Regions from separate parts of the Homo sapiens genome. Here region 2 is linked to region 1. Evidence: promoter capture Hi-C in human tissues and cell types (Jung and others, 2019). All regions are on one chromosome and are shown on one strand. The core of a region is centred on a gene start or on the middle of the fragment in contact, and the rest is flanking DNA. Distances in the headings are between cores, read along the strand shown.

Evidence for each region. The method cuts DNA at HindIII sites, captures the fragments that hold promoters and counts their contacts. A contact is called where the count stands out against the background at its distance.
Region 2: a fragment that was not itself captured here is called in contact with the fragment with the promoter of MMP3 in region 1 in 1 of the 25 tissues and cell types used here (pancreas).

The regions. Positions count from the first base shown.
Region 1 is chr11:102,841,270-102,845,387 of GRCh38, reverse strand. MMP3 (matrix metallopeptidase 3) reads left to right here and starts at 1,779. Exons shown (of 10, transcript NM_002422.5): 1 at 1,779-1,946; 2 at 2,472-2,716; 3 at 2,809-2,957; 4 at 3,109-3,234. The coding sequence starts at 1,842. The HindIII fragment of the contact is 10,071 bases long and covers 1-4,118 here.
Region 2 is chr11:102,891,011-102,895,391 of GRCh38, reverse strand. No RefSeq gene overlaps it. Among named protein-coding and RNA genes, the nearest start is that of MMP12, 18 kb to the right of the region's middle. The HindIII fragment of the contact is 3,990 bases long and covers 1-3,916 here.

The DNA of each region.
Region 1 (4,118 bases), core at 530-3,029:
AATTAGAGCTGCCACAGCTTCTACACTTTTAACCTCTCAATATTTTATCTGTTGGGCTCCACTGTTTCTTCCTGGAATTCACATCACTGCCACCACTCTGTTCTCCTTGTCCTCATATCAATGTGGCCAAATATTTTCCCTGTATTTCAATCAGGACAAGACATGGTTTTTCCCCCCATCAAAGGAATGGAGAACCATAGAATACTAGTTTTAAAATGTCTTTAGGCCAGGTGCCGTGACCCATGTCTGTAATCCTAGCACTTTGAGAGGTTGAGGCAGGAGAATCACTTGAGCCCAGAGCTCGAAACCAGCCTGGGCAACATAGTGAAACCTCTGTCTCTATTTTTTAAATAAAATTTGAAAAAGTCTTTAGACATAATCTAGTCTAAAAATGAAGGCTTAAATGTGATGTATAGCCCCCTGCCAAGTGGCTATCAACTGTGTGGGCATCTTCAGTCATAGGGATCTTATTGCCACAGAGAAATCCCTTTAAACTTATTGGGTAAAATCTCTCCAATGTTTATTAAGAAACACACAAAAAATAAAGCAAAGAAGAAAATGCAAAAGAGTTATAAATGAGAGGAAGCAAAATGGGCACTTATTAAAGGTCTAATAAATGCACATTTGTATCCATCATTCTACTGAGTTCTTACTCCCAAGATGTTCTTCCCTTTAGCAAACAAATAAGCAAGTCAGCAAAGAAAGAAAGAACAAACAAAATGTGGTGATCAGGGAAGCATTGAGGAGATGGATGGTGGCAGGTGGCAAGAGGACTATAAAAGTTTTACAAAATGTCTTCCTCTGAATATGTTTAGAGTCTTGCATTCAAGCATTTATTATACACCAATAATGTGAGCAACACTTTACTTGACAAAGAAACAGAAAAGAAAGGAAAGGAAGAAAACAGAAGAGCATGAAGAGAAAATTTAGGATGGATTCTGTTCTTCAACTTCAAAGCATCTGCTAATTTGAATTTAGGGAGGAGGGGAAAAGGTTGAAAGAGAATAAGACATGTGTAGAAGACAAGGACAGAGAGAATTTCAGTCCGGTAAGCAATGTAATTCATTTCAATTCTACAACTATTTATGGAGCAGCTACGTGGGCCCATCACCCATTAATAAATTGGTTACAGAATTAAAACCAACCCAAAGGGAATATACTTCCTTCTTTTTCACAGACCCTCTTTGTTCTATTCTGCCCATGAGGTTTTCCTCCTCAAGAACCAGCAAATCCAACGACAGTCAATAGCAGGCATTACAAATCAGATTCAGAAAAATAAATCACCCCTTCTAAATTTCTTCTAGATATTATCTTTTATGTTTTGAGTATAATTGTATATAGTATAGACTATAGCTATGTATGTACACTTTCCACTTACATCTTTTATTTGCTTTTATAATGTGTTTCTTAAAATAAAACTGCTTTTAGAAGTTCTGCACAATTCTGATTTTTACCAAGTCAACCTACTTCTTCTCTCAAAAGGACAAACATAAATTGTCTAGTGAATTCCAGTCAATTTTTCCAGAAGAAAAAAAATGCTCCAGTTTTCTCCTCTACCAAGACAGGAAGCACTTCCTGGAGATTAATCACTGTGTTGCCTTGCAAAATTGGGAAGGTTGAGAGAAATTAGTAAAGTAGGTTGTATCATCCTACTTTGAATTTGGAATGTTTGGAAATGGTCCTGCTGCCATTTGGATGAAAGCAAGGATGAGTCAAGCTGCGGGTGATCCAAACAAACACTGTCACTCTTTAAAAGCTGCGCTCCCGAGGTTGGACCTACAAGGAGGCAGGCAAGACAGCAAGGCATAGAGACAACATAGAGCTAAGTAAAGCCAGTGGAAATGAAGAGTCTTCCAATCCTACTGTTGCTGTGCGTGGCAGTTTGCTCAGCCTATCCATTGGATGGAGCTGCAAGGGGTGAGGACACCAGCATGAACCTTGTTCAGGTAATTAACACTAACTGACCTGGCCAGGTGGGGAGCTTCCAGAGTAAGCTGAAACCATTCTGTGTGTCTTAAAACCCACATAGAATGCTTGAGCTTACTGTGTAGGAACAGTTCAAGAATAGAGAGTTATAGAGTGTTGGAAGTGGAAAAGGTCTCATTATCACACCATTTGGGCTTCTCCTCTTATGTAGGAAGAAACAAAGGCCAGAAATATTAGGTGTTTTCTTAAGATCACACAACACCATAGCAGTAGCAGCACTGGGGCTTAAGGCACATGAGTAACAAGTGGAGAGTGGATGAACCATATCTTGCTTTGGAACAGCTTCAGTTTTTTTTTTAATGCAACGTAATTTTAGCTAAATATTTGTGTTGCTAGTATCATATTATAAAATTTGCCATTATTTCAGCAAGCTAGAGAAATACTCCAAATAGATTAAGAAGTGAGCAACTGCAAAAACTTACTATAAATAGATAGCTATAGTAAAAATTGTAAGAGTGACCTAAAAACTATACTTATTCTGTTAGAAATATCTAGAAAACTACTACGACCTCAAAAAAGATGTGAAACAGTTTGTTAGGAGAAAGGACAGTGGTCCTGTTGTTAAAAAAATCCGAGAAATGCAGAAGTTCCTTGGATTGGAGGTGACGGGGAAGCTGGACTCCGACACTCTGGAGGTGATGCGCAAGCCCAGGTGTGGAGTTCCTGATGTTGGTCACTTCAGAACCTTTCCTGGCATCCCGAAGTGGAGGAAAACCCACCTTACATACAGGTAATGGTTCAGAGGGGTTTTCACATAAGATTGGAATTTTATAAACTATATCATAGGAGAAAATAGCATCTGCTTCAATTTTTCTCCTACAGGATTGTGAATTATACACCAGATTTGCCAAAAGATGCTGTTGATTCTGCTGTTGAGAAAGCTCTGAAAGTCTGGGAAGAGGTGACTCCACTCACATTCTCCAGGCTGTATGAAGGAGAGGCTGATATAATGATCTCTTTTGCAGTTAGAGGTAAAAAAAAAAAAAAAAAAAAAAAAGCAAAACAAAACAAAACAAAAAACACATGAAATGTATCCATTCATCTATCTGGTGTTGTTGTACTGGAAAAGGCTCAAAAGGGATCCTTGTTACATATCTTTCCAATAAATTTTTTTCCTACTAGAACATGGAGACTTTTACCCTTTTGATGGACCTGGAAATGTTTTGGCCCATGCCTATGCCCCTGGGCCAGGGATTAATGGAGATGCCCACTTTGATGATGATGAACAATGGACAAAGGATACAACAGGTTAGTTACACATCTCTCAGAATGATTTTGGCATTAATTTTTTTATATGTAGAAATCTGTTAATAACCAAGAATGCTCAAGAAATGAGATGTTCTGGATTTTCCAGTGGATCAGAGATCAGCAGAATATATTTTTGTTTTAATTATTATTGAAAATATTTTCAGATGCTTTAACAGTTTTCCTATATTGGTAAGCACAATATAGGAAATATCATTAAGTATTTCTTTAATGACTGGATCTTTGTGATCTAGGGGTAACCATTATTAAGAAAAATTTCTCATATCAAAATACAAACATTCAAGGGATAGTATATTGCACTGAATCTACATTAAAATGTGCTCTGGATGTTACTTATGTAATTTCCTCCATTTACTTCTTTACTCTTCAAACCAGAAATAAGAATTAAATTTCAGAAACTGAGATTCTCTTTTTTTTTTTTTTCTGGCTGAGGCATTATTTTAGTACTTTTAGGTTAAAAGAATTTTTATGGGCTTGTTCTGAAGGAAAAGACTAACTCCCAAATACAACGTTCAAACTGTTTAGGTAGAAGAATGTTTCTCAGTTCATAACTGTATGTTTTGGGGAATGACATCCAAAGTTTTCAAAAAAATCAGCTAAAACAATTAACACTACTTCTAAAAAAATAGGAAAACAATTAATACTATGTCTGAGGTTTAACTGGGATTTATAATGAAAATGTAAACCTCTGTAGGACGTACAAATGTGAGTTTAGTCCTGGATAGAATTCTTGATTGGTTGAGTTAACGAATTCTTGTAAAGAAACCTTCCTGCAAACTCTCAAATGAGATTGTTCCTAGCATCACAAGTTACACAAGTAATACTAGCAAAAGTAAGGTAGATTTACTTACTATATTGATCATAAT
Region 2 (4,381 bases), core at 672-3,171, 50 kb before region 1:
GCAGTGAATAAATCTCACAAGATCTGATGATTTTATAAATGGGAGTTCCTTTGCACAAACTCTCTTACCTGCCACCATGTAAGATGTGACTTTGCTCCTCATTTGCCTTCCACCATGATTGTGAGGACTCCCCAGCCATGTGGAACTGTGAGTCAATTAAACCTCTTTTGTTTATAAATTACCCAGTCTCTGGTATGTGTTATTATTATTATTATTATTATTATTATTATTATTATTATTATTGAGATTGAGTCTTGCTCTGTCACCCAGGCTGGAGTGCAGTGGCACAATCTTGGCTCACTGCACCCTCCACCTCCTGGGCTCAAGTGATTCTCCTGCCTCACCACCCAAGTAGCTGTGATTAAAGCGCTTACCACCATGCCCAGCTAATTTTTCTGTATTTTTAGTAGAGACAGGGTTTCACCATGTTGGCCAGGCTGGTCTCAAACTCCTGACCTCAAGTGATCCACATGCCTCAGCCTCCCAAAGTGCTGGGATTATGGGCATGAGCCATCGCACCTGGCTCAGGTATGTCTTTATTAGCAGAATGAGAACAGACTAATATAGTAAATTGGTACTGGTAGAGTAAGGTGCTGCTGTAAAGATACCTGAAAATCTGGAAGCAACTTTGGAATTGGGTAACAGGCAGAGATTGGAATAGTTTGGAGGGCTCAGAAGAGGACAGAAAGATGTGGGAAAGTTTGGAATTTTCCAGAGACTTGTTCAATGGCTTTGACCAAAATGCTGATAGTGATATGGATAATGAAGTCCAGGTTGAGGTGGTCTCAGACGGAGGTGAGGAACATGTGGGAACTGGAATAAAGGTGACTCTTGCTATGTTTTAGCCAAGAGAATGGGAACATTTTGTCCCAGCTCTGGAGATTTGTGGAACTTTGAACTTGAAGGAGATGATTTAGGGCATCTGGTAGAAGAAATTTCTAAGCAGGCAAGCATTCAAGAGGGGATGGGTGCTGTTAAAAGCATTCAGTTTTATGTATTTACAAAGATAGATTTGTAATTGGAACTTATGTTTAAAAGGGAAGCAGAGCATCACAGTTTGGAAAATAGGCTATATGGTCTTTGTTGCAACTACTCAACTCTGCCACTGGGGGCTGGGTGTGATGGCTCACACCTGTAATCCCAGTGCTTTGGGAGGCCGAGGCGAGAGGATCACTTGAGATCAGGAGTTCAAGACCAGCCTCGCCAACATAGTGAAACCCCCACTCTACTAAAAAAAAATACACAGATTAGCCAGGTGTGGTGGCGTGCACCTGTAGTCCCAGCTACTCAGGAGGCTGAGGCAGGAGAATCTCTTGAACTTGGAGGTGGAGGCTGCAGTGACCAAGATCATGCCACTGCACTCCAGCTGAGGCAACAGAGTATATTAGTCAATTTTCCCACTGCTGATAAAGACGTGGACTTATAGTTCCACTTGGCTGGGGAGACCTCATAAATATGGTGGAAGGTGAAAGGCACGTCTCATATGGCAGCAGACAAAAGAAGAAGAACTTGTGCAGGGAAACTCCCCTTTTTAAAACCATCAGATCTTGTGAGACACATTCACTATCAGGAGACCAGTGCAGGAAAGACTCACCCCCATAATTCAATCACCTCCCACCGGGTTCCTCCCATGACACATAGGAATTGTTAGAGTTACAATTCAAGATGAGATTTGGGTGGGGACACAGCTAAACCATATCACACAGTGAGACTCTGTCTCAAAAAAAGAAAAAAAATCAACTCTGCCTTTGGAGAAAGAAAGCAGCCATAGATGATATATAATTGAATGCATATGACTGTGTTTCAATAAAATTTTATTTGTAGATACTGATATTTGAATTTCATATAGTTTTCATGTGTCTCTGTGTATTACTTTTATTTCATTTTTCAACCATTTAAAAATGGAACCTGGGTCAGTGACATGTGCTGTCATCCCAGTACTCAAGAAACTGAGGCATGAAGATCACTTGAGCCCAATAGTTTGAGACCAGCTTAGGCAATATGGTGAGACCTTGTCTTAAAAAAAAAAAAACCAACAACAATAAAATAAAATAAAAGTGGAAGGAAGGGCCATTTTTAGCTTGCAGGCTGGATTTGGTCTGTGGCCCATAACTTGTCAAGCCATGTCCTTCTATGGGGTTTACAGTTCATATAATTCTTTACTAAGTCATTTGCAGTCTAAATTGTTATTTTTTATATCTAGGTCTTGTGTCTTTAATTGGGTTGTGAGTTTTCTGAGGGAAGGCACCTCATACTTGTTTGTAAATGCTCTAAAGACCAAGTTCATTGGTGAAAAGCAAGTGTGATAAATGTTGATTAGAAGAATCAGTTTTGCCCACGATGATCTTGGTCACAGGGAGCTGTAGATGGTTGGAGGAGATTGGTGCTTCTAGTATGTGGAAGATCTAGGCAGAAACAGTGGGAACAGAAGACTCAGGAAAATCCTTGAAAGACAGCCAGAAAATAGAGTTGGATTCAATATTGAACTTTAAGATAGAGAGAAACTAGGAAGTAGATGTCTCTTTTTCATCCAAGCCATGAAATCAAAGTGAAGTCAGGCAGTAAAAACCAAACTCCTGGGCAGCTGCGTTTCTGCAATGCTCTAGTATATCTTTCTGGATCAAAATATTCACAAGGGAATTACTGAGCATTTCTACAACTGGTCCTTTGGCTAAAGTGCATCTTCCTACCTTTGACCTCGTGCTCCAATCGACTTTTCAAAACGCAATTTGGGATTCATCATTTCCAAAAAGCCTTTCCCACTTTCCACTTCATCCCCATCCCAACACGGATACAAACACACACACACACATACTGCCTTGAGCAGGCCTCCTCTAGTGCAGGGATAGTTACTCTCTTTCTGTTTACTGTGCCTCAGACAGTGGCTGGTGCCCTGCAGGTAATCAATGAGTTTTTTTTGTTGGTGTTTTTTTTTTTTTTTTTTTTTTTTGAGGTGGTGTCTCACTCTATTACCCAGGCTGGAGTGCAGTGGCATAATCTCAGCTCACTACAACCTCCACCTCCTGGGCTCAAGTGATTCCCCCACCTCAGCCTCCTGAGTAGCTGGGACTACAGGAACATGCCACCACACTCAGCTTTTTGTAGAGATGGGGTTTCACTATGTTGTTAAGGGTGGTCTCAAACTCCTGGGCTCAAGTGATCCACCAGCCTCGGCCTCCCAAAGTGTTAGGATTACAGGTGTGAACCACCTGGCCCTTTTTTTTAAATGCAGTTTTAAAATAGAACTTCTTCAAATCCAGCCATTCAGAGAAGCACCTAGTTTTTACTATATTTTTATCTTTGTTGCCTAGGAGCAGGGAAAGAGGGAAAAAGGGAAAAAAAACTAAAGGCAGGCTGTAGCGCAAATCCTCTGTAGATCCTTCCTTTAAATGCTAGAGCAGTGGTCCCCAAACTGCCATTGCTGGACTCCACCTCTAGAGTTTCTGATTCAAGAAGTCTGGGAAAGAAACCAACATTTTGCATTCCTAACAAATTCCTAGGAAAGGCTGATGCTGCTGGTCTGGGACCACACTTTGAGAAACAGTGCTCTAGAACCTGAGCTCTACTACTGCCCTATACCATGAAGAAGTTTGGGAAGCTTGTCTTCTGACTTGGTGGCTTCCATTCCTATCATGTACATTTCCTCTCCAACCTCAGATTTCTGATGTTTCCTCTCAGCCCCACATTATCATTGTTCTCTAGCTAGGTTGCTTTCAAACACCAAAAAGAAAAAGCACATGAGAAGGTTTCATATTGAAGTAAAAATAAATGGTAAAGCTTTCTTTTACATCAAAAAATCAACCTTTAAAAGGGAGTACAGGCCAGGCATAGTAACTTGCACCTGTAATCCCAAATCCCTTTGGGAGCCTAAGACTGGAGGATCGCTTGAGCCCAGAAGTTTGAGATCAGCCTGGGCAATATAGTGAGACTCCACTTCTATAAAAAATAAAATGTAAAACTATAATTTTTTTAAAAACAGGGAGTACACTTGTGTAAGCTAATAAAATGGAACTCCAGGAAGAGAGCTTCAGAGTTTATCTAGGTGAAAAAGAAGCTTTGCCCACAGGAAATTACACAATCCAACCCACATCCACCACTTGGGGATACATCCATCTCAGGGCAGGTATTAAGGTATTAAAACCCTGCCTGGATCATAATTTTAAGTCACTATCATTTGAAACAGCACATCTTGAGTTTTGCTTTTTGTAGGTGTGTGGTGATAGCTGGGACCACAGGCAGATATAAAGCAAAGTCACAATTCCTAGGAGCATGAAAAGCAGGGAGATGGGACTGTGGCTGGGAGATGGGACTGTGGCTGGGAGTATCTGAGAGGTGGAGGGAGGTTAAGATCTGGAGAGATCAAGGGGTACAGAGGAAGAAA